Regions from separate parts of the Homo sapiens genome. Here all the other regions are linked to region 1. The links are contacts of gene promoters, found by promoter capture Hi-C in blood cells and fetal thymus (Javierre and others, 2016). All regions are on one chromosome and are shown on one strand. Each heading gives the region's core, a stretch centred on a gene start or on the middle of the fragment in contact. The rest is flanking DNA. Distances are from core to core; before and after follow the strand shown.

Region 1 (4,233 bases), core at 485-2,984:
CTGCAGAAGCAAGTCTCAAAGATATTGGCTATTTTCCTACTTACAAAAATACGTGCACCTTGTAAAAACTTCAACAATAAAAAGAAAGTAAAAAACAAGAAGTCCTTCATAGTCTCACCTCTCAGATAAAACCACTCCAATTGTCACTTGGTATCTGCAGGGGGTTGGTTTTAGGACCCTCCCTAGAAGACCAAAATCCATGGATGCCCTGATGTAAAAAGGCCTAGTATTTGCATCTAACCTATACACTTCCTCCTGTATACTTTAAATAATCTCTACATTGCTTATAATACTGAATACATTGTACATGTTATGTAAATTGTTGTTATGCTATATTTAATTTGTGTTTTTAAAAATTGTATTCTTTTTTAAACTGAGACGGTGTCCTGCTCTGTCACCCAGGCTGGAGTGCAGTGGTACAATCACAGCTCACTGCAGCCTCGACCTCCTGGGCTCAAGTGATCCTCCTGCCTCAGCCTCCCAAGTAGCTGGGACCACAGGCAGCACCACCACGCCCGGCTAATTTTTTTTTTTTTTTTTTTTTGAGACAGAGTTTCGCTCTTGTTGCCCAGGCTGGTATGCAATGGCGCGATTTCGGCTCACTGCAACCTCCACCTTCTGGGTTCAAGCGATTCTCCTGCTTCAGCCTCCCGAGTAGCTGGGATTACAGGCATGCGCCACAACGCCCGGCTAATCTTGTATTTTTAGTAGAGACGGGGTTTCTCCATGTTGGTCAGGCTGGTCTCAAACTCCCGACCTCAGGTGATCCGCCCACCTCGGCCTCCCAAAGTGCTGGGATTGCAGGCGTGAGCCACTGCGCTCCGCATTTTTTTTTTTTTTTTTTTTTTGTGGAGATGTGGTTTCGTCATGTTGTCCAGGCTGGTCTCCAACTCCTGGGGCCAAGAGATCCGCCTACCCTGGCCTCCCAAAATGTTAGGATTACAAGTGTGAGCCACTGCGCCCGGCTATTTTTTATTTTTAAAACTTTGGAAAAAATATTTTCAATCCTCGTTGGTTGAATCCGTGAATGCGGAACCCGAGGATGCAGAGACCCGACTGCATAGGAACTTGGTGTATAATCTTCCTGAATTTAAAAAATGTACACACATACATACCTAATTTTTTTTTCACAAGAAACCAGGACTATAGCGTACATACACTGCTATGAAATTTGCCTATCCTAGCAGTGCATCTTGGTTATCTTGCTGTGTAGCCAATTCGTCTTACTAATGAAAGCAGAGATTTGGGGGAGTTAGCGCTCTCTGAGGACACGCGTGTTGTGGCTTCACGCAGGTCACTCTGCTCTTAGGGCTCCAGCTTCCTCCGTGTAGGAGGAGGGCAGGGGACCGGGAGCTCTGCGATGTAACGCCAACCAACAGGGCGCCGCACCCCCTGCCCGCCTCGGGACTACCTGGGATGTTCTTAAGATCCAGTCTTGTTTGACGTGGGTGGCAGCCGCCACTTTCAGTAATTCAGACAAAGCCGCCGCCGGCGCCGCCAGGACCTCCCCTCGCCACTCCTCGGGAGGGGTAAGGGTGACTCGAGCGGCCAGGCGGGCTGGGGCTGGCTCAGGGGCGGGGCCTCGGGCGGGGAGCCGGCCGAGGGGCGGGGCCTCAGGCTGGTCGCCCAGTGCGTGCGGGCTGGTAGGCCTGTCGCGGCGTGACGTGCTCGGCGCCCGCGTCCGGCCCCGCCCCATTTCTCCCAGGCCCCGCCCCTCCGTCCCTCACCGCACCACCCCTAAAGACGCTAGCGCTGCGATGGCGGAGGCCGTGGAGCGCACTGACGAGCTGGTCCGGGAGTACCTGCTCTTCCGCGGGTTCACGCACACACTGCGGCAGCTGGACGCCGAGATCAAGGCGGACAAGGAGAAGGGGTTCCGGGTGAGAGGCCGGCGGGAGCGGCGCGGGCAGAGGCGGCCCGAGGGAGCCGGGGAGCGGGCTTCCCCCCAGCACTGCCTCCGGGGCGAGAGCGGCGCTGTCACTCGCGCCGGGGCGCCGGAGACCTCAGCGCGTCCGACCCCAGCTTGACGGATGAGGAACTGAGACCCTCAGACGGACAGGACCTGCCTGAAGCCGCCCCCCGAGTCAGGAGCATCGCCGAGGCTGGAGCCCCGATGCCCCGGCTCCTGGTCTAGGGTTCTGTCTCCACTCCAGCCTCCTTGGCCAGGATGGCGATGAGGTTTTAGGAGCCGAGGTTAGGTAGATGGTTGCGTTTTGGCAACAGATATTCGTGTTGGCTTCCAGTGGCAGTGGAAGCAAAGAAGTCTGCAGTCCAAAACGTTAGCTGCGTTCAAGTATCTGCGGTGTTTGTTTAAAATGGCCTCGTCAGGGACTCATCGGCAATTTTGCTTCTGCAGTTGTGGAAGACCTCATGGCACATTAGAGAAACCCAAACTTCCCCTGCTCTAAAATGATTTTCCATTGCGAGGTTCTTGGAATGTATATGTGTGTGATTTGTATGTTTGTGTGTACTGACTTCAATGAGAGGCAGTGAGCTAACAGCAAGAGCACTGGAGGGGAGTTAGGAGATCTGGTTTCCTGCCTGGCCAAAGTTAGTGGCTACTTAGTGGCAAAAGCAAATCATTTCACCCCTCTGGGCTTCAGTGGCCTGATCTATAAACTAGGGGCATTGGATTGGTATTGATATCCAAACCCTTTTCCAGATTCTGTACTCTGCTGTAATTGCTCCTCACAAGAAGGTGACTTCCTTGGCTGACACTCTGAGCAGCTACCACGGCTTCGTGGAACTTTGATGACTTGAAGGAGTCAGTCCATGCACCTCCTCATGATCCTTGGGATCTGGGAATTGTGGAGATTGTCTCATAGCTCTTCTTCACCCCACCCCCTTTTTTAAAAATGTGAGGTAACTGAAACTACAGTTAAGCAACACTGCCATTTTTTTTTCTTTTTTGACAGAAAGTCTCACTCTGTCGCTTAGGCTGGAGTGCAGTGGCACGATCTCAGCTCACTGCAACCTCTGCCTTCTGGGTTCAAGCGATTCTCCTGCCTCAGCCTCCCGAGTAGCTGGGATTACAGGCGCGTGCCACCACGTCCAGCTAATTTTTGTATTTTTAGTAGAGTCGGGGTTTCACCATGTTGGCAAGGCTGGTCTCGAACTCCTGACCTCAGGTGATCCATCCACCTCAGCCTCCCAAAATGCTGGGATTACAGGCGTGAGCCACGGTGCCTGGCCTGATGACACTGCCAAATTGATCAAGTAAGTCAGAGGCAGATCCAAGATCTGGAGCCAGATCTCTTAGGTTCTGGGCCAGAGCCCTTTTACACCTGAAATTTCCGTGCTTGCTAGAGGGTCAAACCACTTCTCTAACATCAGAAAATTACTGAAAAACCGTTGCATTAGTATGTTTTGAAAATTTTATAGATTGCTAACTTACAAATTTTTTTTTACACCCAGAAGCCATGACAAGAGGAAAAAGCTTTATTCCATGGAGGGGAGAATTCCCTTCTGTCCCTTACCACCTTCTCCATCCATGTTTCTCGCCAGGTGGATAAGATTGTGGACCAGCTGCAGCAGTTAATGCAGGTGTATGACTTGGCTGCCCTTCGGGATTATTGGAGCTACTTGGAGCGTCGGCTCTTCAGCCGCTTGGAGGATATATACAGACCCACAATCCACAAGCTGAAAACCAGCCTGTTTCGATTTTATCTTGTCTACACAATCCAGGTGCCTGTTGATTCAGGGGTTCTGCTTCCCTTGGTGGAAGGAGCTCTTTGATCCCAAAATAGATTTTCTTCCAGTTCCTAGGGAGGAATCTGTATGTGACTATGGGAAAGAGTGCAGCAGTTACAGTGCAATTATTTTTGACTGTTTTTCTTCTTTTTTTTCCTTGTCGTCATCTGTAGATCATCTGACTTGTCTTCCCCATTCCTATTTCCTTTTTTATGTTAAGCATGTAAGCTTAAAACAAAGGTGGTATTTTAAAGAATATAAGTAGCTGGGTTAAAGTTTGAGTAATAAAGATGATAGCTGACCTGGAGGAATGAGTCACTTAGTTATTTGAACATCAGCTAGGGATTAATTTTTAGGATGGGATTTATCATTAGAACTTCAGCTTAAACCAGCTTTGAAATGACAAGTTCCTTGAGAAAAGAGTGATGATTTCCTTTATATTATGGAATTTTATTTTGCCACTTACCTGGCAGGCTGATAGTCAAAGGTTGTCTGCTGTGCAATGATGAAGAGTCTTACCTCTGGATTTCTGTCTCTCCTCCC
Region 2 (4,233 bases), core at 782-3,281, 890 kb after region 1:
ATCTCAGGCCATGCTGCAGGCCTAGTGAATCAGAATCTGCATTTTAACAAGATCCCCAAGTGATTAACATGCACATTAAATTAATACTCACTGCAGTAGGTGAAGACAGAAATGTGGAGGAAGGAAGAAAGATACAGAACTCTTGCAAATATTACAGTACTCAGGCCATTTTTTTCTTGTGCAATCACTTAGACATGCTTGGGTTTTTATCTGAGATGTAATGAGAAATGTTTAGAACATCCTTTAAGGGCTTCCAAATTAGTGGCATATATGGAAAATGAAGGTCTGTGTGAAGAGAAATCACCTCTAATGAAATCCAGATGAAAATCCAGACCAGCTTCCTGTTGGCAGGATTATTGATAGTGGAGGTGGAGATATTATCATTGCTTCAGCCTCACTCCCAGATAGTCCACTTTACTTGGTCTGAGGTAGAACTGGTACTATTATATACCTGTATATATACCAGTTATATATATATATATATGTGTGTGTGTATATATGTGTATATGAATATAACTGGTATATATACGTGTATATATGTATATATAATTCATTGTTTAATGTGCCAGCACTGTGCAAACTCAAGACGGGTGCTCATTAAATACTGAATTTCACAGGTAGTAGGCTTTCTATTTATGTTAGTTCTTCTTCCTACTCACCTTTTTAAGGCAGCAGTTCTCAAATTCTAGAATGCATTAGAATTAGAACGTGGAGTGCTTGTTAAAAATACAAGTTTCTAGAACCCATACACAAGGATTTTGACTTGGTAGGTCTAAAGCGAGACCCAATAATCTGCACTCGATAACGAGTACTTCAGATGATTCCAATGTGATCTCCCAGTCACGGACTGGGAAAAAAGCATTCCAAACTATTTTGTAGATCTCGAGAAAGACTTCAGAATGTTCGTGTCTCACAGGAAATAGCAAAAACAATATAGCATTCCAAAATCCTACCTAGCTTTGTACCGTGTACTTTGCTATTGCTGTTGGATTCAATTACAACGGAAATATTTGATGTGGTAAAATACTGAGCAGTGATGCTAACCTTTTATAGTAGACACTGGGAAGCAGAAAGGAAGTGTAAACACGTTTCCCTTAAAAACTAGTCTTGCTGGGTGGATAAAGTGTGCATACCTATTTTACAAATAAAGAATAGTGCCGCACTAGCTTATGTACGTAATATGTGCTTAACAAACATTTGTTCATTGAGTAAGTAAGAGTCAAGTCGAATGGCTCAGATTGTAAGTGCTATGAGAATTCCACTGTAAGAAGAGGGAAGTATGCCTTCTTTTCACCATTAAAGATCTGATTGCTGATATTGGCATTTTTGCCAGTAGAAGAGCCTGGACGTTGGCAGTTTTCAAAGCCCCCAGGTGATTTGACTGCGCAGCTAAGTTTGAGAACCACGGAGGTAAAGGAAGGGAGTACCTTAAAGAGCTAGGATTAGGGATAATATCAATAGATCACCTTTAAGGCTGCACCTCAGCCTAATTAAATCAGAATCGCTGGGGGTGGGACTTGGCTATCAGTCATCTTTAAAGCTCTCCAAGTGATTCCAATGTACAGACGTGGTTGAGAGCCATTGCTTTACTTGAATTCTCAGTGGTTCTTAATCCTGGCAGCATAATAGAGTCACCAAAGATACATATATATATATCAGTTCAGGAAGCAGAGTTGTTTCAGATGCTAGAACACCTCCAACGAGCAGTCACAGCTCTGTAGTTCTAGTGCCGCCGCTGCCAGCAAGTTTGTTGTGACCCTGGCGGCCGAGTTACTTTCAGCGCTCTGGGCGGTCTCGCAAGAAACACTGACGCTTTGGGACTTCATTTCCCAGCAAGACCCGCGGCCGCCTATCGCGCGAGTCATGCCGGGCACCTCGTCCCCCTGTCCTCTCTGGCGGAGCTGCCTGGCGGAAGCGGGAACGTCGCATCCTGAGGTAAAGGTGCACGGCATCCTGGGACATGTAGTCTGGCCGGGGCTCGGACGCCCCCTCGGATGAATGGGACCGAAGCTGACTGCGAACTACAGCTTCTTGGCAGCGTCGGTGTTGGCCGCGGGAGAAGGGGAGACCGCGGCGGCCCCCAGTGAGAGCGGCTTTCCAGGACGGTGCGATGTGCTGCGCAGCGAAGAGGCAGGAGGCCGGCTTCCTGGGGTAGCGGTACAGGCGGGCGCTTACTCTGTGCGCTTGCTTCCCCAACCCTGCACCGGCCATGCGCCCGGCCTTGGCGGTGGGCCTGGTGTTCGCAGGCTGCTGCAGTAACGTGATCTTCCTAGAGCTCCTGGCCCGGTGAGTGACCCGCTCGGGCCGCACCCGGTCTCCCGGGGCGGGGCGGAGGAAGCCAGAGGAGAGGTCCCCCCGGGACGCGCCCACGCCCTGTCCCCACCCCGCCGCCCACGGAGCCCGGGGCAGGACGGCCTGAGCCCCCCAGCAATCCGTCCTGTCTGGGCAGCCTGGGACCCCGCTGAGTCCGCTGCTTCCCAAAACTGCGCACCGGCGGCAGTCCCGCCTAACAGTTTCAAAGCATTCCTGCGAGGGGAAGACTCAGGGTGTTGCTGTCGTCACCCCTTTTCCACACTCGGGGGGTATTGAAGTCTGAAGAGTTTTTCACATGACCAGTCCAAGGTCGGCAGAGAGCTAGTGTCAGAACCAAGGTTCCTTCACCAAACCACTCTCTCTTCCTTCCCATCCAACTCTAGCTCTTTTTTCGATCCTGTTAAATGGCACAGGCTGGACTTGAGCAAAGGTTTTTGACTTGTAAAGCAGTCTGACTTTGTACATACTGCAAAGAAAGTTTTATTTTTATTACGGCATCCTGCAAAGCATTTGCTTTATTGGCCTTGGAAATGGTTATGAGTACTTTGCCCAAACATACATAAATGATGCGGTAGAACAGATTTTTATGTAGAAGATCAGTCCACGTGACCCGAGAGTGCTCTTTGAGGTGGCTTGCAAAAAGACAAAAAAAAAAGCAAGTAGAAGATTGGTCCAAGTGACCTGAGAGGGCTCTTTGAGGTCACTTTGAATGTGCAAAGTTCAGTGGATAGAAGCTATAACAGAAGAGACAACAGGTGGTGTGGAAAAGCCTCCAGGACTAAAAAGCTGGGTTGTGAATTTCACTCTTGGCTCCGTCGTCCACTGGCTGTGTAGCCCTTCAAGTCACTTAGCCTCTCTTGGGCTCCTTTTCCTGGCAGTAAAACAATACCTATAGTGTTCTCTAGCTCGTGTTTCTGAATCTATACATTACAAGTTGAGTATCCTTCATTTGAAATGCTTGGGAACGGGTGTTATTTGGTGTTTTTTGTTTTTTGTTTTTTTTTTGGATTTGGGAGTATTTGCATATACATAATGAGATATTTTACGGATGGTACCCAAATCTAAACACAAACTCATTTGTGTTTCTTATACACCTTATACACATAACCTTAGCTTGAAGGTAATTGTATACAATATTTTTAATAATTTGTACATGAATTAAAGTTTGTATACGTTGAACTATCAGAAAGCAAAGGTGTCAGGTGTGGAATTTTCACTTGTGGCATCATATCAGTGCTCAAAAAGTTTCATATTTTTTAGAGCATTTCAGAGTTCAGATTTTCAGATGAGAGATACTCAACTTGTATCTCTGTTGATCATCCGAACAATCCTGTGCAGAAGATTGGTCAAGAATTATAAACTGTTTTACTGAAGTGGAAATGGTCCAAAGAAGTTAGGTGACCCTTCACTACTTGTAAGTGGCAGAGCCAGAAATGGGACCCAAGATATCTAAGCTCCTAGTCCAATACCTTTTTCAACCTCCCTGCCAGTTTTGAACTTGAGCAGCCCATAGATTTTGGTCATCCAGTTCTTCATGTGGTGCCTACTAGAAGTTTATTTTATTTGATATCATTGATTAAATCATCCCAAAGCAACCAGTTTACTTAAGGTAAACTCTGTGTGGGGTTAAGTTTTGCTGTTACGGAGCTTGACATTTTATTGTACAGAAAGTGTTGATAAAGATCTGTTATTTGACTTGGGAATAGGTGATGAGGGATAAAAAATGAAAAAAAAATTGTATCCAACTGTAAATCTGATACACTTTTAAAGGAAGGCCACTTTGGCAACAATTGATTTGAAAATATAAAAAAGTTGGCCAGGCATGGTGGCTCACACCTGTAATCCCAGCACTTTGGGAGTCCGAGGTGGGTGGATCACGAGGTCAGGGGTTCAAGACCAGCCTGGCCAATATGGTAAGAC
Region 3 (4,233 bases), core at 907-3,406, 760 kb after region 1:
CTCAGCAGCTCCTCAGAGAAAAATCAATCAAGGCGCCATCAAGCCTGGAGAAAGTTCAGTGTGTCCTGGGCAGTTTCCTGCCTGGGCCCCAGTTGTTCTTTCTGGGGTAGGGATGTCCTCTGCTCTCCCTGCTGTCATCAGTGGTGGTTGTGCCCGGACACCACTCAGGGCCTGTGGTAAGGCATTCTTTCTGGAAATTGAGATTCTCTGTTCCTTCAACCGTGCAGAGTGGGGAAGGCTGCAAGAGCAGCTTCTGAGGTCCTCCAGTCAAATAAGAGGTCGCCAGGTCCTCTGAGGGTCGTCCCCTCTTAACCCACACCTTCGATGAGCATCCCCACCCTGCCTCGCTGCTCCCTCTGAGGTGGAGAGTGAGCTCCATGCTAACAGGCTCTGGTAACGGGCTTGTTCAACTGGGCCCCTTTCTTCCCCAAAGCCTGTTGAAAATAGCTGATGTCAAAACACAGATGTCTGCAGCTGCTATGGCCCTGGGGGGTTTTTCTTTTCATTTGTTTCTACCCCAGCTCTCCAAAGGAATGTGCTCTGTTCATTCAACAGCCCGCTGCACATGTTTATTGCTCAGCTCTGTGATCATAGCAGGATAGTGAAAGTTGGGGGATACGTGTCCATGCAGCCTACCTGGGTGCCAGTGAAGCGCGATGCCATGTAGGCACTTCCTCCTCCTCTTCAGTAGCCAGGCTCCCCACAGCTGTTCTGGTTACTCAGATGGTCAGGTGGCTTGGCCATGGACACCCATTCAGTCATTTTGCCAGGTCAGCCACTAACCATTTGGTGATCTTCCATGATCCACATTCCCCCTCGTTTCCCTTTAACTTATTTCTCTCTGCTGATACCTCTGAGGGGCCATCTCCCGTGTCTCCACCCCTTGAAGCAGATCCTCATACAGTGAGAATTGACACATGGGCCTTTGAATAAACATCAGTGATGTGCTTAACTTCATGATAATCTCCCAGAACCGCTTGAAAACAAGCGACTGCCGGTATCAGAAGCCATGCATGAAAAGAGAGCGTAAGGGGCAGGCATTCACTGGCTGAACTGGGGAGCCACATGGGAATTGGGGTCCATAGGACATCTATTTTTGAAATATTTTGAGATATTTGAAGGAAATGGTTTCCCTTACTATCTCAGCATTCAGAGTGTGGGGAAATGTTTTTAATACAGTGGTTTGCAAATCAGTGGATGTGAAGAAGCAAGAAAATGAGATGGCTTCAGCATATCTTTTAAAAGTGATCTCACCTACACTTAAGTGGCTGTCAGATTCTCCTACAGGGCAATGCTGTGTGGCCTTTCACTTCCATCCCCCGCGTCTGAGGCTGATAGTCCAGAATGCTGCTGAGGAAGTGCACGTGGTCTGTCTTTGCTGAACAAAGTGGCAGGCTGGTCAGCAGGTATCGGTGGCTGCCACTGCCCCTCCTCCTTGCTGTGCAGACTCTGCATTCTGCGGGGCTCACGTTCTTTCTCCTTTCAGTCCCCTCCAGGGCAGGTGACTGAGGCCGTGAAGGTGGCCATTGACGTCGGGTACCGCCACATCGACTGTGCCCATGTGTACCAGAATGAGAATGAGGTGGGGGTGGCCATTCAGGAGAAGCTCAGGGAGCAGGTGGTGAAGCGTGAGGAGCTCTTCATCGTCAGCAAGGTATCGTTCCGCGGTGGGGCTGGAAGGGGCTCTCGGTCCCATCATCTGTTGGTGCATCAGCCCAAAGCCAAGTCCACACTCAATACAGCTACACTTTTCACTGATGGGCGATTCTTCCCGGGGAAACGTATCACCCACGGCCATACAGGGCTCCAGAGCTCGCCCATCCTTGGCTCTCTGTTGAATGGTCATTCCATCTGGGCCCATTGCTTAGAGTCCCGTGCTGATGAGGCTGAGGTTGTGGATTGGCCCTCCCTTTCCAGGGAGTCGCTTTCAAGGATGGAACTTGGTTCCCATCTGCAAACTGAATCTCCAGTGCTAGCCACTGTCTTTGACCTGAGATACTGATGCACAAAGGACATGAGGCAGGAGGATGGGGCTGGCTCCACAAACACCAGCCCGGGGGGAAAGTTTCGAGAGTTCTTGCTTAGGCCTAGGGCAGGCTAGCCAATCTGTCCATTCCATTTTGTGTCCTCTGGTCCTTGTAAGAGGTCTCTGTGACCTGGTCATCCTGCCTGCCTTTGGAAAGTTAGGATCCAGTACGCAGTGGAAATGCCCTCACAACCATTCACAGCATCATGGTAAAGCAAATGGGTTTTGGGGAGAGGAGACTGCTCTGTCTTTCCAGCCAGGAAGCTGCCTTGTGGCTGGCAATGATGACATGTGCCCTCTCGCTGGCTTAGCTGTGGTGCACGTACCATGAGAAGGGCCTGGTGAAAGGAGCCTGCCAGAAGACACTCAGCGACCTGAAGCTGGACTACCTGGACCTCTACCTTATTCACTGGCCGACTGGCTTTAAGGTATGGGATGCCTGGTGCAGACCAGGTCCCTTGGGGCTCAGGTGCAACCTGTGGTGTGTTTTGAGCTCCCTTAGCAGATTACGTGTGGGTGACTTTCTGTTCTTGCTGCTCAAGGTATAGCCAGTGGACCATCAGCACTGGCATCACCTGGGAGCGTCTTAGAAATCACAGTCTCGGGCCCCACGCAGGCCATTTGAATCCGCACCAGCAGTGACTCATACGCACACTTCTTCAAAGTTTGAGGAGCACTGCTCTTTGCCAGTTGGTAGATGTGCAATTTAAAACTGTCAGCAAACACAGCTGCTGTCTGTAGTGCACACAGCCATGAGGCACGGTCAGCCCTGGCCCTCCCCTCCAGGCACGTGCACACACCAACCCCCATACACATGAGTCCCTACCCACGTTCTACATGCATACCCTGTCCTGTGGAGGCCCGGTAACTATTTGCAGTCTAGTTGTTGGCACAAGAAGAACTTGAGAGTTACTTTGTCTTTTGCCTTTTTTCTAGCCACTGCCTCAGTTTTCTGCTGTGAGCCAGGTTCAAAGTGTGGGTTTAGCTTTATCCCGTAGCCCTGTTTTATTGCACCACAGCATATCAGGGCTGAAGGGACTTGACTTTTATCTTTTGATTTTAGGGGTAAGCTGGGGAGGCTGGGCCAGGTGGTAGTTTTATAGGCCAGTGACCCGCCAGGCCTTGGGCCCTGTGAGTCCTGGTCTTGAGTCCTTCCTGTATCCACACATTGCAGTCAGTGGCGGGGCTAGTCTCTGTGACCAAGTAGTGTCCATGTCTCCGTCTGACAGTCTCAGCTCCAGCCCGTTTGATAAAGAAGTGTTGGCTATCTGCCTATTTCCTTTTCATAGTGGCACACAGATTATCCCTAGCCAGCTGTGGTGGTTTAGAATTGTTTTAGATGCCAGCTTCCCCCAGCAGGTCTGTGAAGGACTATTACTGATTGTTTTGTTTGTTTGTTTTTTATTGTAATGACAGCCTGGGAAGGAATTTTTCCCATTGGATGAGTCGGGCAATGTGGTTCCCAGTGACACCAACATTCTGGACACGTGGGCGGTAAGACAGCCCCTGGTTGGACCTTGTTTTCGTGACTGGTTCCCTCTTCTTCTTAGAAGCAATCTGCCTGCCATTTCTCACATTGCATTTTGTTATTCTGTCCCTGTTGTTTGCTCTCTCTTTTTTTTTTTTTGAGTTGGGGTCTCCCTCTGTTGCCCAGGCTGGAGTGCAGTGGCACAATCTCGGCTCACTGCAAGCTCCACCTCCTGGGTTCACGCCATTCTCCTGCCTCAGCCTCCTGAGTAGCTGGGACTACAGGTGCCCGCCACCACGCCCGGCTAATTTTTTTGTATTTTTAGTAGAGACGGGGTTTCACCGTGTTAGCCAGGATGGTCTTGATCTCCTGACCTCGTGATCCGCCCGCCTCAGCCTCCCAAAGTGCTGGGATTACAGGCGTGAGCCACCGCGCCCGGCCTGTTTGCTCTTCTTATCTCATTAAAGCCAGCCTGGCTTTCGTCTCACTGTCTCTTAGCTTCTGAAAGGTCTAATTCACTGGCACTGAAGAGTGAGGGCAGGACCCGTTAAACTGGTGCAAACGACACTTCTGATCCTGTCCTTTCTGGGTTCGTTTCTGCACCACACAGACACTTTTCTCTGTAGGCCATGGAAGAGCTGGTGGATGAAGGGCTGGTGAAAGCTATTGGCATCTCCAACTTCAACCATCTCCAGGTGGAGATGATCTTAAACAAACCTGGCTTGAAGTATAAGCCTGC
Region 4 (4,233 bases), core at 846-3,345, 660 kb after region 1:
GTTGAGGAGACAAGGGAAGATTCTGGGGGAGGAGGAGGGTTATAGGGTGGTGGAAATGGGTGAAGAAAACTTTCCTCTTCTTCAGAAGGAGGCAGTACAGGAGGAATCGAGGGAGCTGAGGGTGGAGGCAAAAGTGAGGTCTGGCTAAAAAGGACCTTGGAGGTAGGATCACGAATGGCTACAGAGTTTTATCACGAGTGGAGCCATGAAGGAGAGCTCTGGACTAAATCTAGCCATTGATCAATGTAGGGAAACTGATCGGGGTGACCGGGAGTTCCAACAACGACCCACCACACAGCCTGAACAGCTGTGAAGTGTAGTGACCCGTCTGGGGGCCACCCAGTTCCAAACTTTGGCCATTCTACTTCGCAGAGTGTCCAGAGTTTGCCTTTTTTAAGGCGGACCCCGTAATCATCTGAGAAGCCTAGAGAGAAATTCTGCAACATACACTGGAGAGGACTCCAATCTTTATGGGGCCGGGAAGAAGAGTTTACTATTCTGGAGGCAATTAACAAGGTTTGAACAAAAATATTAAACCCAGCATGGACAAAGATATTCACGGCCTGGGAGGCTATGGTATCAGAAGAACAGAAGTATTATAGCTAGAAGAAGTAGGAAAACAACTATAGCCAATATTTCTTGCCACATAAGGTCTGTCTCCTCAAGCTTCGAGATCTATGGAGAGGATAAGAGGTGGGTCCAAGGGATCCTCAGCCAGTGGGACTTAGGTGACCCCCCCTTCTTGACTTATATCCCAAATAACTTTGGTGTCTCCACGACTCGAAAGCAAAATGTTCAAACTCGGTCCTTTCCTTCACGGGTTTAAGGAGGGAGAACACAGCCAAGTCTTAGAGACGCTGGACTTGCTGCAACACAGGAAAATGAGATGTGCAGGGTAAGGGATGGGGATGAGGAGGAAAGGGGCCACTTGGATTTCCCTAAAGGTTGGAGAGTAGCCAAAAGAGGTAAAATAAGAGTCCAGACAGAGTAGAGCAGTATGGGTGTAGGTTTCTCTGCACAGTGCCTTATTTAAGGGCATGGGAAAAGTTATGGGATGACAGAAAAGGTGAGTAAGGAGGTCAGCAGGGTGGCTATTTTGGATCCACCACTGGTCTAAGGAGAAGGTGGACCAGTCGTTGGGGCGTGGGGTATGGCAATCCAAACGCCAGCAATCTTTATGGTGCCAGAAATCCTAAACGGGTGAATGTCTTCCACACCCTTCCCCATAACAACACCTAATTTGTTTCTGACAGGAAAGGCAGGACTGGGATGGCCAGCCCAACCGACTAATGAGGAATTTGACCTCCTGGGATAGAAAATCTGTACTAAGGACCTTGAAGAAGTCCTTGCCCAGTCATTTTGGGCAGTATCGACGATCCGACATATGAAATTTAGACAGACACTAAACAGGACAATAGGCACTGGGGTATATAAACAAGCATGGCAATTTTTATAGACAGACAAGGGGAGGGGGTCCCGTGATGGGATCAGTCAGATGCCCTCCTGGCTGCTCCCCTTTCGGGGACTTAGGCTCCTCTTGGCATTGGCAGGCTGGTATAAACCCCTGGCTTGGATCGAGCTATGCCTGATGCCGCCCTAAGCCTTATGAGGTCACCACGGAACCACAGGTGAGGGCCTTCTCGAATTCCCTAGCTTTCACCCTGGAGCTACAAACTGGAAATTCAAGCGCAAGCCCTTGAACTCCACATTCACTCACTCACTCACTCACTCAGAGTTTATTACAATTTTTATACCCATTCTAAAACAGAGATCTCCCGGAGACCTGAATGAGAGAGGGAGAAGAGATAGAGAGAGAGAGAGACTAGACTTAACAGAGAATCCTGACAGAAACCAGGACTCTGTCCTCCAGTGTCCTGGAGCATGGACAGAGTCTGAGGGAGGACCTTCGTCAGGGCCGTTTCCCTCCCAGAGAGACAGAGTCAGATCTGACTTACCTTCCCGGGACTAGAGACTGAGGACTCAGGAGTTGAATTTGGCTGGGCGCACCGGCAGTCGATCCGTTCCCCTCCAGAAGACAGTGGCCTGTGGAGCCCTGGAACGTCTTCAGGTGGCCCTGTAAGCCAGCTGTCTGTCTGGGGAAGCCCGGAATGAGTCAGGTCTTCACCCGGTGGCGAATCTCTCTGGGGCTTCCAAATGTCGTAACCGAGCAAGTCATAGAGAGAATGCCACACTCTGAGACTAATTCAGGAGTCCTTTATTGCTGGCGACTGAGAAAGAGCTAGAGCTTGAAATTCTCTCGGTCCGGAAGAAGAGGCTAGAGTTCTTTTTATACCTTGGCCTAAAGAGGGGAGGGGGAGTCTAGCTGAAGCAATTTTTTACAGAAGCAGAACAGGAAAAAATTAAAAGATAAATGGTTACAGAAACAGTTACAGGAAAATAAACAGTTCCAGGTGCAGGGGCTTAAAGTATCCCAAAGTGATAAAAGCAGGGGCTTTGGATACCACCAACCAAGTGTGCTCCCAGGAGCTGCTGGTACAGCTTGCCTCAGTATCTTATCAATAAGCGCATTCTTGGATGTGCTTGGAGTCAGCTTGCACCAGTTATGTCCTTAAGGAGGGGGACAAGGGGCTGCAAGCGAAGAAACCAAGCTAAGACTCTCTCAGCTATTGACTCTCTCGATATTGACTCTCAATTGAGTCTCCCAAGCTATTGACTCTCTCAGCTAAGAAAGAGTCAATCAGGATAAAACAAGATAGGGTATCACAATTTGATCTGCAAGATTATTTCCTGGACTTGTGAAAGGCGAGTCGTTTTGGTGCCCTGGGACATGTACAATAGCTATCTCTTCTGGCAATTGGAGATTGTTGAGGACACGAGCATCAGTTCTCTATGAACTAAATCTTGGCCTCTACTATTGATAAGAGCCCTCTCCATCCAAATTTTCCCAAATGTGTGTGCCTCCCCAGAGGGATACTTAGAGTCAGTATAGATAGATTTTCTTGGTTTTGTAAATGTCCTAAAGCTTGGCTGAGTGCAAACAGTTCACACCCTTGGACAGACCAATTATTAGACCCCCTTCCTGATTTTACTTTTTTAACAGTCTTTCCATTAATCACTGAATACCTATTATGTCTCTTTCTTTTAATCACCTGGGAGGTTCCATCTATGAATAAGTGCCACCCTGTCTTGAAGGGAGTTTTTCCTAAGTCTGGTTGAACTTTCGTATGGTAATTAATTCGATTTAAACACGCGTGCTCTCTCGTTTTACGTTTGGATCCCCCGTTAAAGAGCCTGCTGAATAAAGTGAATTATTAGTACTTAATATTAAATCACCTTTTTCCCAGAAAGATAGCCTCATATTTTAAAATTTTTGAGTTGGTAATCTCCCTCCTTGCGTTTTGATTTAATATAGTTTTAACTTGGTGGGTTGTGGCCTGAAGCGGCTGGGGAGTAACTTGAAACCTCAGCTGAAGGGACAGCACAGGCTGGGGCGTGGCCTGAAACAGCTGGGGAGTAACCTGAAACCACAGCCGGAGGGACCTGAGAGGGGAACCAAAGGGGCAGGATTGGGGGCGCTGAAGGAAGGAAGGTGATTTAGAGGATCCCATGTCTTGGTAGGTATGGGTTGTCTAGGCATGGGAACTCTTTCCTTTTTAGAAAGGTTGGTTTCTGATTTTCTCCCTCCAGAGTCTAAAGGGTAAAGGAGAACTGGTCCCTGCCGCCAGCAGAGGGCGTAATCGATTTTTCCTGGGACACAGGGCTCTTACTGTTAACATATTTGATTAACAGCTGACAAATTCGCTCTTCATTAGACTTAAATTTTGGCCAGAAAAGTGAGGGCTTAAGGATGGGTTCTCGAACTTAAATAAAACAACAATATTCTATCATCTGCTGTTTTTGTTTATACTTGGTTCTCTTATTATTTTTTCAATACTTTAGCATAAGCCCCAAGGGGCTATCAGAAGGAAATTCATCACTCTCTAGACTCTTTAGTTTTCCTGTCTTACTTGAAACGTTCCCCATCTTAGGGATTATGGGGAGGAGGCCCAACCCCTCCTGTGAGATTTCTACCCTCCCCCTTCCTGGAGGCTTACTGAGGCTTTGGGGAAAGGCTCCAACCCAACCTGTTTGGATTTCTACCCTCCCCCTTCCTCTTTGTCTACTCTGTCTGTTCCTGACTCTAGTTGACAGATGGCAGCATGAGGCCATAGAGAAGACTCACTCACTCCACATAACCACCATACTAAGTCCCATTCATACACTGTCAGCCTC
Region 5 (4,233 bases), core at 613-3,112, 590 kb after region 1:
CTTCACAGTTCATGAGACAGTGTCAGACTTAGGGATCATAGACTCCCCTAAGCCTGAAATTTAAAAAGTACCTGAGCACACAGACTCACATTTCCCTCTGTGCACTCACAGTACTTAGAGGGAAGCATGATGTCAGGAATAAAAACAAACTGAACTAATTAAATAGGAACATTTTTCTGAAACACCCTATGCCGTTTGAGTTAGAAGCCCATAGGAAAATATTATATTTGCATTTTTTCGGTCAAGAATGATATTTTCTGGGGACAGAAACAGAACTTGGGAAGATAATGACCGTTTGTGGAGCTATTGGGATGTGTATCAGCTATTGCCACAAAAATTCTGTGTCACAAACCACCCCAAAACTCGGTATCTTAAAATAGCAATCATTTAATCTCACAGAGCTGCAGGTCAGCTGGGTGGCTCTGCTTCATCTTCTTCATGTGCCTTGGACCAGTGACTAGTCAAGACACACTCTTCTCGTTGCAATGACTAGTCAAGACACACTCTTCTCGTTGCAATGATAGGGGTGCAAGAGGCCAGGCCCAACCACTCAAGCACATTTCAACCCCCTATTTCTGTCACATCTGCCAAGGCAAGCCATGCAGCCAAACCCAAAGTCAAGGATTTGGGGAAGGATATTTCCCTTGTGGAGGTAAAAGGGGGAAGGAGTGAATATTTTTGAAAGTACTCTACCACAGTGGGCCAGCTACAGAAAAGTCATTCTAGAGTGGGCTACAGTTTGTTCAATTAAAGGCAGGAGAATTTTTGTTTCAGAGTTTTTCTTCTCATTCTTCGTAAGTGAACAAGAGTGACTTTACAGTGTACACTACTCAGGTGATGGGTGTACAAAAATCTCAGAAATCATCACTAAATAACTTATCCATGTAATCAAATACCACCTGTTTTCCAAAAACCTGTTGAAATAAAAAATAAATAAATAAAATCAAGCTAAATATCTTGGCATCCAGAAACTTTTTTAAAATGTAGAGATAGTATTGCCCTAGAAATAGAGGCATTTTGGGGTTTTAGATACCAATCAAATGTTATTATGAAGATTTCATTATCTGTTCATGGTTAAACTGGTATTGCCAGACTTTGAGACCCTAATCAAGCTTTGTCTATTTTTATTTTCCTGCAAGGTTCAGATCCCAAAAGAATTACTCTCATTCTGAATCCTGTCTGAGACTCAGTACACACCAATGAGTATGCCTGTTGGTAATTCTACAATCTGGATATCCAAAAAAGTGGCCAAATGGTCCAAAACTAATACTCCCTTATCTGTACAGGAGCTCCCTAATTAGTAACTAATTTGTGCTTTAACTAAGGTTTATTTGAGCCCCTCAATTTGGAAGGGGTTAAAGTTGAAGATTCCAACAGATTTCACCAAGCTTAGTATCCACCAATTCTTTCCTATCTTAAGAAGGGGAGGAAAATATTTTCCTTATATAGGATTGAAGAGGAACAAAAAGCCCTTAGTTATATTGATCATCGGGAGGAAGGGGAAAAAAACTATTTTAAATGGTTTGAAACAAAGGAACAGCAAAGAAAATAGGGAGCAGAACAACAGGAAATGTCCATTATGCTGCTAGCACAGTGTGTGAACCAAAGAGTGTCCATTAATGATGATTGACATCAATAGAAACATTAGCTTGCACCTCCAGTTCTTGAGGGACAGTACAGAAATCCAGAGCAGGGAGAAACAGTATGATTTGCAATCATGACAAACCTCACAGATCAGATAATCCTAGCACTGGAATTTAAGAATAAATTGGTTTGAATAGATGAAGAAGAAGGAAACAGTGCTAGAAGACAGAGAAAGTATATGAGAAAGGTTTTGGAGTTAAGAATGAACAAGAATGTTCAGGGAATAGTGAGACCACCTTAGCCCATATAGGAAAGTGGTCAGAAATTAGATGGGATAGAGATCATGGTGCCAGATTATGAGGGTCTTAATAGGCCAATTAATCTAAATTGTTATGTGGTAGATGTTAGAAGCTGTTGGAATTCCTTGGTGGAGATATTTAGTGCAAACAACTTCAGTTGTCACAACAGGCTAGTCTTCATTGTGATTCTTGGCTAGCTTTTGACTTGGAGATAGTCATGATCACAGTGGACAAGAGGGGATGATTCATGTGTGTTTCGACTCCTTTACAAATTTAGTTTTAGCCTGAATCATAGAAAGACTCTATAGCCTTTTCTCATGCATTTGTTGGCAGCAGCTGCTTGTTCCCATGGGAACATACACCACTTACCTACTCAAACCTTCCTTTTGCCCTCAGCTTTTATTCATTGAAATGTTTCATCTTTTCTACAAAGGATATTTACACATAAGCTTAGAGCATCATCTATTTTTTTCTTCCACAGCTGAGAATTCATTCTGAATATTTGCAGATACATAAAACTCCAGGTGTAACTCCAAGCAAAACATGATGAAAGAGGGAATTTGGATAAACCATGGAATGATGACATCACATTGAGCACCATCTGGTATAAACATTTTTGCTTTCTGCAGTGACCAGATGAAGGAAATATGGTGCCGTGTGCTTCTTCAGTGATTAATTCAGGAAAGCCTTTGCTGAGCTGAAATCCAAAATAGGAAGAACCCACCTTCCACATGTTCAAGAAGCTTGTGATCCCAGGGATGACACTGCCCTTTTCCTCTGAAGGAAAGAAGTTTCCCCTGACCATAATGCCAAAGCTACAAACACTTACATACCTCCATAATTTTGCACTGAACTCTGCTCACATAGTACACAATAATTTCTGCACTACTTTGTTCCTGTTCCAAATTCTAGTGGCTTGAAATCCAAAATAGAGGAAGTTAAATCATAGCAGTTGTACACTTTAGAGAAACTTTGAATTTGGCTACTAGAGATTTTCTAAGGTATTGCTTTTCTTAATTTATATGAAAACTATTGAGCTAGGTTCTAGATTAAGTGCTGGTGATTCAGACATGAGTAAGTCATGATGCCACCTCTGGAGTGTTTCAGGGAAGACAGTTACATAAAAACTAAGCTGTAATAGAATTTAATAAGTCCTTTAATAGAGGTGCAGAGTTCTGTGGGAACGTAGAAGGAAGAATAATTGCTTCTTCAGTTTCAAGGAGGACTTCACAGGGCAGAAGGCATTTGGGCAAGTCTTGAAGGATAAGCCAGGACTCCCCAAGTGGGGTGAGGGCACTTGAGGTGGAGAACAGATGAATAAAAGCAGCAAATGAATAAAAGCATCAAAGTGCAGTGTTGGTTGTTACTTCTTTTTATTCCAGATGAGACAAGCCAGGAATCAGGGCATACAGGGATCTGGGAGGCTGCTCTCTGTAAGCACAGCCTTCTCAGCACACATCTGCTGCAAGCCGAGATTTCAGGACTGCAGAATCAGGCTGACTGAATCATAAGGGTATTATGACTTCCTGGGAAACAAAATATTTGCAAACTCTTTCTTTTTTTCTTTTTTTTTTTCCTGGGACACGGTCTCACTCTGTCACTCAGGCTGGAGTACAGTGGCGTGATCAGAGCTCACTGCAACCATGAACTCCTGGGCACAAGTGATCCTCCCGCCTCAGCCTCCCCAGTAGCTGGGACTACTGCGTGCCACCATGTCCGGCTAATTTTGCAAACACTTCCATGGAAATGGAACAATGGCCTAAAAATAACTACAGATATTTCAGACTATCAGGATATGTGGTTTCTGGAAGAGGAGCCATATTTTTCTAAAGGGAACTTGAAGGAGATTACCCCCAAAGTTTCAGGGACTACAGGTGGTCTTAGTCTCCCTAGCCACATGAATACATCATTGTGTTTTTCCAGACCATTCACTCTTCACACGACTAAAATAGGAGTTCCCACCCTGTATCAGTTTCCTAGGGCTACCTTAACAAAGAACCACAAATTTGTGGCTGAAAACAACAGAAATGTATTCTCTCACAGTTAAGTAGGTCAGAAGTCTGAAATCAAGGTGTCTGCAGGGTTGGTTCCTCCTGGGGGATCTGAGGGAGAATCTGTTCCATGCCTCTCTCCTCGCCTCTGGTTTCCAGCAATCCTTGGCCCTTGTGGACACAGCACTCTAACCTCTGCCTCGTGCTTCATGAAACCTTCATCTGTGCTTCCATGTGTCTCAAAGTTCCCTCTCTTTTGTCTTAAGTATATCAATCAGTGGATTTAGGGCCCACCCTGAATCTAGGATAATCTCATCCCAAGATCCTTAATTATATCTGCAAAGGCCTCCTTTCCAAAT
Region 6 (4,233 bases), core at 1-2,500, 550 kb after region 1:
GTTGATCCAAGGGCACATCGCATACTTTATACCTCCGGTCGTTGTAGATTTCTTGGTAGTAAGGATGAGACTCCTCAATGGGAGGCGGGGTTACATTGTAGCTTCTTCTCCAGAGCCTCACTTGTTCTTCACCATGATTCAAAGCCATCTGCTCCCTGTTGAGACCGATCAAGGCCCCATAGTGACGCTCATTTAGACGCCAGGAGCTTTCCACAGGCACCCATTCCTGGCCTAGCTCTTCCAGGATCAGCCAGGCTGTGTGAATGGACCGATTAAGGACAGATGTGAATACAAGATCAAACTCAAAGTTTAACGCTTTGAGTTGCTTCCCACAGTTCCGAGCTTCCTCCATTCCTTCGCTGTTGAGTTTCTGATCCACCCAGCTACAAAAACGGTTCTCCTTATTCCAAGCACCCTCTCCATGTCTTAACATAATAAGTTTGTACTTGGACATACTGATGGCTGAACTTCCCAGGCGTTTTCAAATGGGCTAATATTCAAGGACAGCAATACATCTAGAAAGACAAGAACAACAAGTCTAAGTTATATTCAACTGACAATCTAGGAATAGAAACATCGCTTTACAACACCCAATTTCTAAAAGAAACTGAAATCCCTTTGAACAGTCAGAAATGTGATAACTCATACACTGTGACACATACAGGCATATTCTATAGATATTAATAATTCATTACAGGGAATCTAGTTGACTTAAATTTTCTGATGTTTGGATAGCATGTTAATTGCATGACATAAAATAACAAAACACTTCATTCTAATGGCATGCTGTGTTTCTGCCAGATACAAAGGCAATTTATGCTTACAGTAGAAAGGATTTAATAGAATGAGTTACAGACGTCTGAAAGAATGACTAGTGGCTGGGAACTCCCAGCTCCCAGCAGCTGACTCTACACTGAAGGCATCCTTTTCACTTTGTTTTCCTGTGGTGGAAAAAGAAGTATTTACCAGTCTCACATTCTTATTATAGAAGTTATTAAACATGTTATTTCAATGCACCACTGCATATATCTGATATGTATCACTGGCTGGTGGCAACTAGCTCTTCAATGCCACAGGCTACAACACACAAGAAAATCTAAGGTATGCAAAACACATCAGTTCAACATTCAGACAAATTAAAAGTGCTTTAAAGAGACATTAACACCAAATATGGTACGTACCTAAATAATCTTGCACCTACCTCAAGATAGAGTTTTCAGCAGGAATAAATCCAGATGCAAAATAAGCTATCAAATGCAAGCAGCTGAGGGATGCTGCCTGTACAAACAGATCTGGTAGGCAGGAGTGAGAGGAACCACACTGATAAAGAGGCCCCACCTCCTCCTCCCCAGCCCTCCAGATATCCTACACACACCAGCTACGTCTTAGCAGGGGGAGAATCTAGTAAAGGGAGACCAGCAACTCTCAAGCTATGCTGAACTCCTTACATTTAAGCTGCTGGCCTGAAGATCTGCTGGGCCCACTCCATCCTCGGAGAATCTGCTGACATGGCTGCTCAGCCCGCCTCTCTCTCTCCTTGTGGTGGACACATCTGCACTGACACATGCTTGGTTTACACGCCCGGCCTCTCCATCTCTCCTCCAGTGTTTTGCACACTGGGTTGTAAAGATTATACGAGCACTACAGCCTGGTCTTCTGCCACTCTTGGCAACTTCCATTAACTGGAGATTTTCTCTCCCACTTAAACTGTGAGTCACCCACAGTAAAATAACAATCAATGGCAAAATTGATTGGAATCTAGATCTAGTTTCTACCTTTCTTTAGTAATTCCTAGAGATTCTGAAGGGAAAACAGTCTTTAAAATAAGGCTTTATATTTCAATGGAAGGCAAACAGAGGACTTAAGGAAAGAAATCAAATTGAGGTGATTTGCAAGTATCGTCATGTGTTGCTTAATGAAGGGAATATGTCCTGGCAAATGCATCATTAGGTGATTTTGTCGTGCAAACAACATAGAATGTACTTACACAAACCTAGATGGTATACATATTGTTACTTATGTTTTTTCATATGGAAAGCCAAGTATCCCAGCACAATTACTGAATATCAGTCATTTCCCCTACTCGATCTGCAATGCCAATGTCAAGTGCCACATATCAGATGTCTATATATGCTCCATTACCATCTTACAGGGCCACCATCATTTACACGATCCATGCTTGACTGAAACATCATTAGGTGGTGCATGACTGAAGTTGAAAGGCTACAGCAGTTAGGATGATGATTTTCCTTTCTTGTTAAGTACCAGGTTGCTGTGCATGTGCAGCAGGGAAGTGCCAGGGAACCAGAAGAGCCTGGGCTCAGGACCCAGATTAAAGCATCCCACAGAGCTGAGAATTCCCAAGGAGGAAGCCCAATGTCTCTGTCCTTAGCCTAGAAGAGGCATCAGGGTGGCAGAACAGAGAAGGGAACAAAAGGTATCTAGGCAGTGTTTTGCCAGATGACTGCCTGTGCCCAGGGGCAGAATAGTCATGAATCTAACAAAGTTCAAGCTTCAGAGCCCCTCACCTGTGAGAAACCAGGTGATGAACACACACACACACACACACACACACACACACACACACACGGAGGGGTGTGTGTAAGTGTGTTAATTTGCAAATGGAAGATATTTTTGCAGTGTTTCTTTACAAAGCCCCAATCCACCAAGTAGTAGAAGCCTCAGCTCCATCAAAAACTGTATCTACCCTTTGTAACCATTGATCATTTTGTTTTGTTATTGGTAGTGGAGGAGGGGGATGGAGAAAAAAGAAGCTATCAACTGTTCCTCTACCTTCACCCTCAGTTTATCTTGTCAAGTGAGAAACCTCCATAAGCTAATGAAGCCATTCTCTCTTCAGTTAAAGAAGGGCATGGTTAGACAAATTTTGTAGACAGAAGCACCTTTCCACCATCTTTTGATTATAAACTATATCAAGGGGACAAAACAATGTAGTAATAGCAACATGGACACTCAGGCACCCACCACCAAGCTTTGTGGTATCTTATTCTCCTATATTTGCTTACTGCATTAAAACAAAGTTCTGTTTTCTTTTTACTAAAAAAAAAATACACACACACACACACCAGAACAGAGGAACAGTACTGCAGTCACAAAAACTATGCAAATATGCATCCTTCCCTCACTCTGAAGCACAGGAATACATTTACGCAGGTGAATACATGATAAAGTACTAAACTAGTATGTCTATCTCAAGAAAACAAAAGGTCACTTTCCTCTCTCCTCCCTAGTACTATCAACGGACTTTTCCCACTTAACTGCTGGATACTTACAAAGAAACTGCTGAGGATTAGCTTGCAAACATAGAAACTTCAGTCAACATCCACAGGAGCTGATTTACCCAGTGTTTACCAAGAAACACACAACGCTGTAGCCAGTGTGATTTAAAGTTTAAGGCATGGATTGCAAACTCAAATGCCTGCAATGGGCAGGCAGCTGTGTGAAGCAGAGTGCAGCTGGACTATGCAGAGTGATGGGCACAGTGACCTGCAAGGACCATGCATGCTTCTTTGAAGGAGGCAACTCTTGTGTAAACAGAAAGTTTTCCGATAACCTCATCTCACTGAGCCAACAGCACTGTTCTTAGAACTTTTCTGGAAAACAAAAAGAAGATGGGATTGCTGACATCGAAGACTAGGATGAATGCAAGACTTAGAGTCAGACCACAGAGAAACTTTGAGTAAATAAATGTCTTTTTTAAAAAAGCTAAAACAATCATTTCAAAACCTCCTAAAAATTCATGTAAAAAATCAAAGGAGTACCTACTACTTAGCTCCAGCCCATTGCCCTGTGATACTGAGCAACTGAGGTTTCTAGATCTTCCAATTAAAAAAAAAATGAAAACGTGTATTTTTATCTGATATCTGATTTAAATATTAGCAACTAATGTATATTTGTAAAATGTGAGTGAAACAAAACATTTCTTCTGCAGGCTAGATCGTGGCTGCTAGCTTATGACCTCTGACTTAAAGGGAAACCTCCCCTAGGCCACAGATAAATGGTACAGCCACTATACCCCAGGAGACGGTCAGAACCCAAGCGTCTGGACCACTTAACCAGCTTTCCTGTTATTGCCCAACACAGCCTTTCAAAGGACAGACCCTCTAATCCCCATAATGCTCTGGGCTTCCTTCTCCCTGACCCACCTTTACAGCCCTCCCTCACCAAACCATTTGCTGGTGCCCTGCAGAATTCCTAGCTCTGTCCTCAAAC
Region 7 (4,233 bases), core at 1,159-3,658, 520 kb after region 1:
CACCATGTTACTCTTTCAGAGAATGAAAATGAAACTTGCTCACTGTAGCTTCATTGAACCACTTTATTCTTTGACCAATTTTGGATGGGTATTTTAATTAAAAATTTTTTTCAGCCAGGCACGCGGTGGGCTCACGCCTGTAATCCCAGCACTTTGGGAGGCCAAGGCAGATGGATCACGAGGTCAGGAGATCGAGACCATACTGGCTAACACGGTGAAACCCCGTCTCTACTAAAATTACAAAAAATTAGCCTGGTGTGGTGGCACACGCCTGTAATCCCAGCTACTCAGGAGGCTGAGGCAGGAGAATAGCTTGAACCCAGGAGGTGGAGGTTGCAGTGAGTTGAGATCAAGCCACTATACTCCAGCCTGGGTGACAGAGCGAGACTCTGTCTCAAAAAAAAAAAAAATTAAACTAAAAACAGTATGGGACAGTGGCCAAGAGCGTGGGCTTTGGAGTTAGGTCAACTTGGATTTGAATCTTGCTGCAGCTATATACTAGCTTTGCGACTGTGTCTTGCTACTCAGGTTTTGTGAGGCTCATCTGTAAGATGAATATAATAAAAATGTTCACCTCAGAATATTATTGTGAGGATTAAACAAGATCCAAGACCTGGCTTAAATTGCCATTAGAGAATGACCCAGGGGAGCTTATTCATTGTAGCTAAATGATAAAATTTAAAATCAAGATTTAAATGCTTTCAGAAGGGGTGCATTTAGAAACACTGAAGTCTCCTTGTTACTCTCTTTTTAAATATGATAGGAATTACAATTCTTATAGAGATTATGCTACACAATGATCTATGTTTACACAAGAACGTAAATGTTGTCTTGGAGAGATTACATGCTCAGATGGCAGAAGCTCTTCAGTGGCAATGAGGGCATGGGCTACTGGGCTACTCTTTGGCTTGGAAGACCTTTCCTGTCTTCCGTTCACCCTACCATGGCTCAATTTGGCTTCTGCCTACCTCCCCAATCCCATCCTACACCACTTCAGCCTTCACTACTGACCTTAGCTGTTGTCTGTTGCCTAAACACCTTCTTCAAGTTGTTCAGGTTACACTGACCTTACCTATTATCTGTTGCCTAAACACTCTCTTCTGTCTCAGGACTATTGCACTTGTTACTTCTTCAGCCTGGAGCGCATGTACAGGTACACACACACACTTACGCAAACACACACAAAATCATTCAAAGTTCAATATATATGAAACCTTTTCAGAGAAGACTGTCATCACCATCCTTGATGATGCGTGGTGGCTTTTAGTCATATAAAATGGCTTTATATATTTTAAAGTACTTTTTGTTATAAAGGTATATTTTTCAAGGCATAAAAAATATACAAAACATATTTTATATAGCAGTTTATTAGCTTGGTTGAGTTTTTAAATATTTAGACATTACTTACAGCAAAACATTGAAAGCACCTAATTTTTTTTTCCTGTTGGACATTTAAGTTCTATCCAAATGATGCAACAGTGTTCAGCCATGGAGTAAAATTGTTTGAAGTCTATACAACATGGAGAAATCCTTATGATAAAGACAAGAATAAAATATGAATATAAATCAAGAATATGTCTAAGTGAAACATGCATATAGAAAGAAAGAAATAAAATAGTTCTTAGGATGGGAACATTAGGGAATCTTTCCCACTTATTTTCAAGATGTTTATATGGTTATATTTAACTCTATAATTACAGGTTAAAAACAGGTTGCAACTCCATAAGTAACCTGTTTCTGTACCATTATAGCAGCTGCCTATGGAGAAGGGCTCGGTGCTGACAGGCTACTTAGCCTCACCTGCCTTCCTGTCCGGCAGTGGTAGGATTTCCACCTCTGCTTCCATGTATTGGCATGGTAGGAAGACAGCCGCAGAGAACAGACAGGTCAGATCAAATGCCAGCCAGGAGAAATATTTTAGGCCAGGCACAGTGGTTTACACCTGTAATCCCAGCACTTTGGGAGGCCGAGGCGGGTGGATCACCTGAGGTCAGGAGTTCGAGACCAGCCTGGCCGACATGGTGAAACCCTGTCTCTACTAAAAATACAAAAAATTAGCTGGGCATGGTGGTGCGTGCCTGTAACCCCAGTTACTTGGGAGGCTGAGGCAGGAGAATCACTTGAACCTGGGAGGTGGAGGGTGCCGTTACCTGAGATCGTGCCATTGTGCCATTGCACTCCAGTCTGGGCGACAAGTGTGAAACTCTGTCTCCAAAAGAAAAAAAAAAATAGGAAGAAAAAAAGAAAACAAAAACCCAGCTGCGAGAAATATTTTAAAGAACAAATCTAAAACAGTGGGCAGTTTGGCCCCCCAAGTGGATAATTCTAGGGAATTCTGGAGTTTAAGTTTGCATGACTTTGGCTGGCACCCAGACTTAAATCCATTCAGTTCTCCTGCCAGTGAAGCGAACAGACAAGTGAACAAGCCAGATCCAGCAAGAGTCGATCACAGGGCTCCACAGGAGACTGTTACGAACCCTGAAAGATGAGCAGATATTAGGCAGGCAATGAAAAGAGGGCAAGGTGGGGTGGGTGATGGAGGGTAGTTCAAGGCCAAGGGGACAGCGGGTGCAAAGGCAGAGCCTAGGAGGGGTGCTGGACCTCTGAAGGTCTGAAGAATTACCCTGACGACTGTCTGGAGAGGACTAGAGGAGAGTAAAAGCGGAAGCAAGGGGATCAGCTAGAAGGCTGCTGAAATGTTGAAAGAGAAAAGATGAGGGCTTAACTCAAGGCAGAACAGTGGGGATGGAGAGGGGATGAATTTGCAAGGTAAGAGGTGACGGAATCAGCAGGACTTCATAACCATCAGAAGAAGAAAAGTCAAGGGTGATTGTCAAGATGCTGGCTAGACATCTGGGTGCACTGGTGGGACCAACATTGCCAAACAAGTGTCTAGAAACAAACGAGTACTTGGTATTCATTCGTATTTTAGATGGAAAACTGCCTGCCCCTTTCCCATATTCTGATCCATGGACATCTATGATGTTTATATTTACATTTTATGGTTACATAGGGTAAACTCTATAGTTAATAATCAGGGAAAGAAGTCGCACCGAGGAAGGAATTCCAAGCCTCTTTAGAAACAATCTTTTGTCATAAATATCCAGAGGCATTTATGAATAAATACTGACCCCCAGTGTCTACGTACAGAAACAAAGATTTTAAAAACGATATAAAATACCAAGACTCCTGGGAGAGTACCTGGAATTCCAGCTACAAGTAACATTCCCTGCAATCCAATCCCAGGATCCTAGCAGGCATCCTCAGAGATAAAAATACTGACTAGCTAACCTATGGCCAGCGGCCTTAGGTCTGGAGAATTCTAATGAGTATTCTACAGAATGAGTGTCGGGATGGATTACATAGCCTCAATTGTGTTGCAGAGCTATGTGTTGGCCTTTGCCCCTCTGCTTCAGAGGTTACATATGTCAAGGTCTAGGTTCAATTACTCCTAAGAGTCTTCCCACTAAGGGTAGATTTTATGCAATTAATCTGACTAATACAAACTCCAGCTCTGTCTGATTCCCCATCCAGTTCAACACGACATCCAGAGAATTTTCCTCTCAGGCAGATACAAAGCAGTGTGGTTGGGCAGACATTCCCTCTTCAATACTGTGTGGTTAGGGTTAAGTTCACGAGAATTTTTTTTTTTTTTTTTTTTTTGTGATGGAGTTTCACTCTGTTGCCCAGACAGGAGTTCAGTGGCGTGATCTTGGCTCACTGCAACCTCCATCTCCCGGGTTCAAGTGATTCTCCTGCCTCAGCCTCCTGAGTAGCTGGGATTACAGGCACGTGCCACCACGCCCAGCTAATTTTTGTATTTTTAGTAGAGACAGGGTCTCACCATGTTGGTCAGGCTAGTCTTGAACTCTTGACCTCGTGATCCAGAAAGGAATTCCATTACTATTGGTTAACTGCAAGGTGATGGCAGTCATAATCGTGTTTCAGATTTGTTGTTTCAGCACACAAGCTCATTGCTGGTCTGATGCAAGCTGTAGCCTCAAAGATAATAGAAATAAAATAAGTATACAATTTGTTTCTTGACAAGATAATACAGACTTAAGAAGTCTTTCTCTTGGGCCAGGTGTGGTGGCTCATGCCTGTAATCCCAGCACTTTGGGAGGCTGAGGCGGGCGAATCACTTGAGGTCAGGAGTTTGAGACCAGCCTGGTCAACATGGTGAAACTCCATCTCTAATAAAAATACAAAGATTAGCCAAGCATGGTGGCGGGC

Evidence for each region. Contacts are between HindIII fragments. The CHiCAGO score rates a contact against its expected background, and 5 or more counts as called.
Region 2: the fragment with the promoter of SLC35B4 here is called in contact with the fragment with the promoter of WDR91 in region 1 in 4 of 17 cell types (naive CD8 T cells, total B cells, total CD4 T cells and 1 more); the score reaches 9.4 in naive CD8 T cells.
Region 3: a fragment that was not itself captured here is called in contact with the fragment with the promoter of WDR91 in region 1 in 6 of 17 cell types (monocytes, activated CD4 T cells, naive CD4 T cells and 3 more); the score reaches 8.1 in monocytes.
Region 4: the fragment with the promoter of AKR1B15 here is called in contact with the fragment with the promoter of WDR91 in region 1 in 12 of 17 cell types (naive CD4 T cells, M0 macrophages, endothelial precursors and 9 more); the score reaches 13.1 in naive CD4 T cells.
Region 5: a fragment that was not itself captured here is called in contact with the fragment with the promoter of WDR91 in region 1 in 9 of 17 cell types (naive CD4 T cells, activated CD4 T cells, monocytes and 6 more); the score reaches 9.0 in naive CD4 T cells.
Region 6: a fragment that was not itself captured here is called in contact with the fragment with the promoter of WDR91 in region 1 in 2 of 17 cell types (total CD8 T cells and neutrophils); the score reaches 5.5 in total CD8 T cells.
Region 7: a fragment that was not itself captured here is called in contact with the fragment with the promoter of WDR91 in region 1 in 7 of 17 cell types (megakaryocytes, naive CD4 T cells, activated CD4 T cells and 4 more); the score reaches 7.0 in megakaryocytes.

What each region holds. Positions count from the first base shown.
Region 1 is chr7:135,209,027-135,213,259 of GRCh38, reverse strand. WDR91 (WD repeat domain 91) reads left to right here and starts at 1,734. Exons shown (of 15, transcript NM_014149.4): 1 at 1,734-1,880; 2 at 3,505-3,684. The coding sequence starts at 1,758. RefSeq lists a silencer at 1,492-2,031 and an enhancer at 3,202-4,233. The HindIII fragment of the contact is 4,223 bases long and covers 1-3,438 here.
Region 2 is chr7:134,314,728-134,318,960 of GRCh38, reverse strand. SLC35B4 (solute carrier family 35 member B4) reads left to right here and starts at 2,031. Exons shown (of 10, transcript NM_032826.5): 1 at 2,031-2,286. The coding sequence starts at 2,210. RefSeq lists an enhancer at 1,511-2,240 and a silencer at 2,321-2,490. The HindIII fragment of the contact is 10,331 bases long and covers 1-4,233 here.
Region 3 is chr7:134,449,007-134,453,239 of GRCh38, reverse strand. AKR1B1 (aldo-keto reductase family 1 member B) reads left to right here. Exons shown (of 10, transcript NM_001628.4): 2 at 1,487-1,654; 3 at 2,338-2,454; 4 at 3,443-3,520; 5 at 4,121-4,233. Among named protein-coding and RNA genes, the nearest start is that of AKR1B1, 8.0 kb to the left of the region's middle. RefSeq lists an enhancer at 3,886-4,233. The HindIII fragment of the contact is 5,053 bases long and covers 1-4,233 here.
Region 4 is chr7:134,546,972-134,551,204 of GRCh38, reverse strand. AKR1B15 (aldo-keto reductase family 1 member B15) reads right to left here and starts at 2,095. Exons shown (of 12, transcript NM_001080538.3): 1 at 1,956-2,095. LOC105375520 (a long non-coding RNA gene) reads left to right here. Exons shown (of 3, transcript XR_928005.3): 3 at 1-3,848. RefSeq lists an enhancer at 2,025-2,084. The HindIII fragment of the contact is 2,317 bases long and covers 669-2,985 here.
Region 5 is chr7:134,618,080-134,622,312 of GRCh38, reverse strand. LOC124901750 (a long non-coding RNA gene) reads left to right here. Exons shown (of 2, transcript XR_007060537.1): 2 at 2,365-3,226. Among named protein-coding and RNA genes, the nearest start is that of BPGM, 27 kb to the left of the region's middle. The HindIII fragment of the contact is 944 bases long and covers 1,391-2,334 here.
Region 6 is chr7:134,657,729-134,661,961 of GRCh38, reverse strand. It overlaps BPGM (bisphosphoglycerate mutase), which reads right to left. Exons shown (of 3, transcript NM_001724.5): 2 at 1-515. The coding sequence starts at 454. All of the region lies in intron 1 of LOC124901750 (a long non-coding RNA gene), which reads left to right. Among named protein-coding and RNA genes, the nearest start is that of BPGM, 13 kb to the right of the region's middle. The HindIII fragment of the contact is 2,528 bases long and covers 1-2,514 here.
Region 7 is chr7:134,685,937-134,690,169 of GRCh38, reverse strand. The region is part of intron 1 of LOC124901750 (a long non-coding RNA gene); the gene reads left to right. Among named protein-coding and RNA genes, the nearest start is that of BPGM, 41 kb to the right of the region's middle. The HindIII fragment of the contact is 5,670 bases long and covers 1-4,233 here.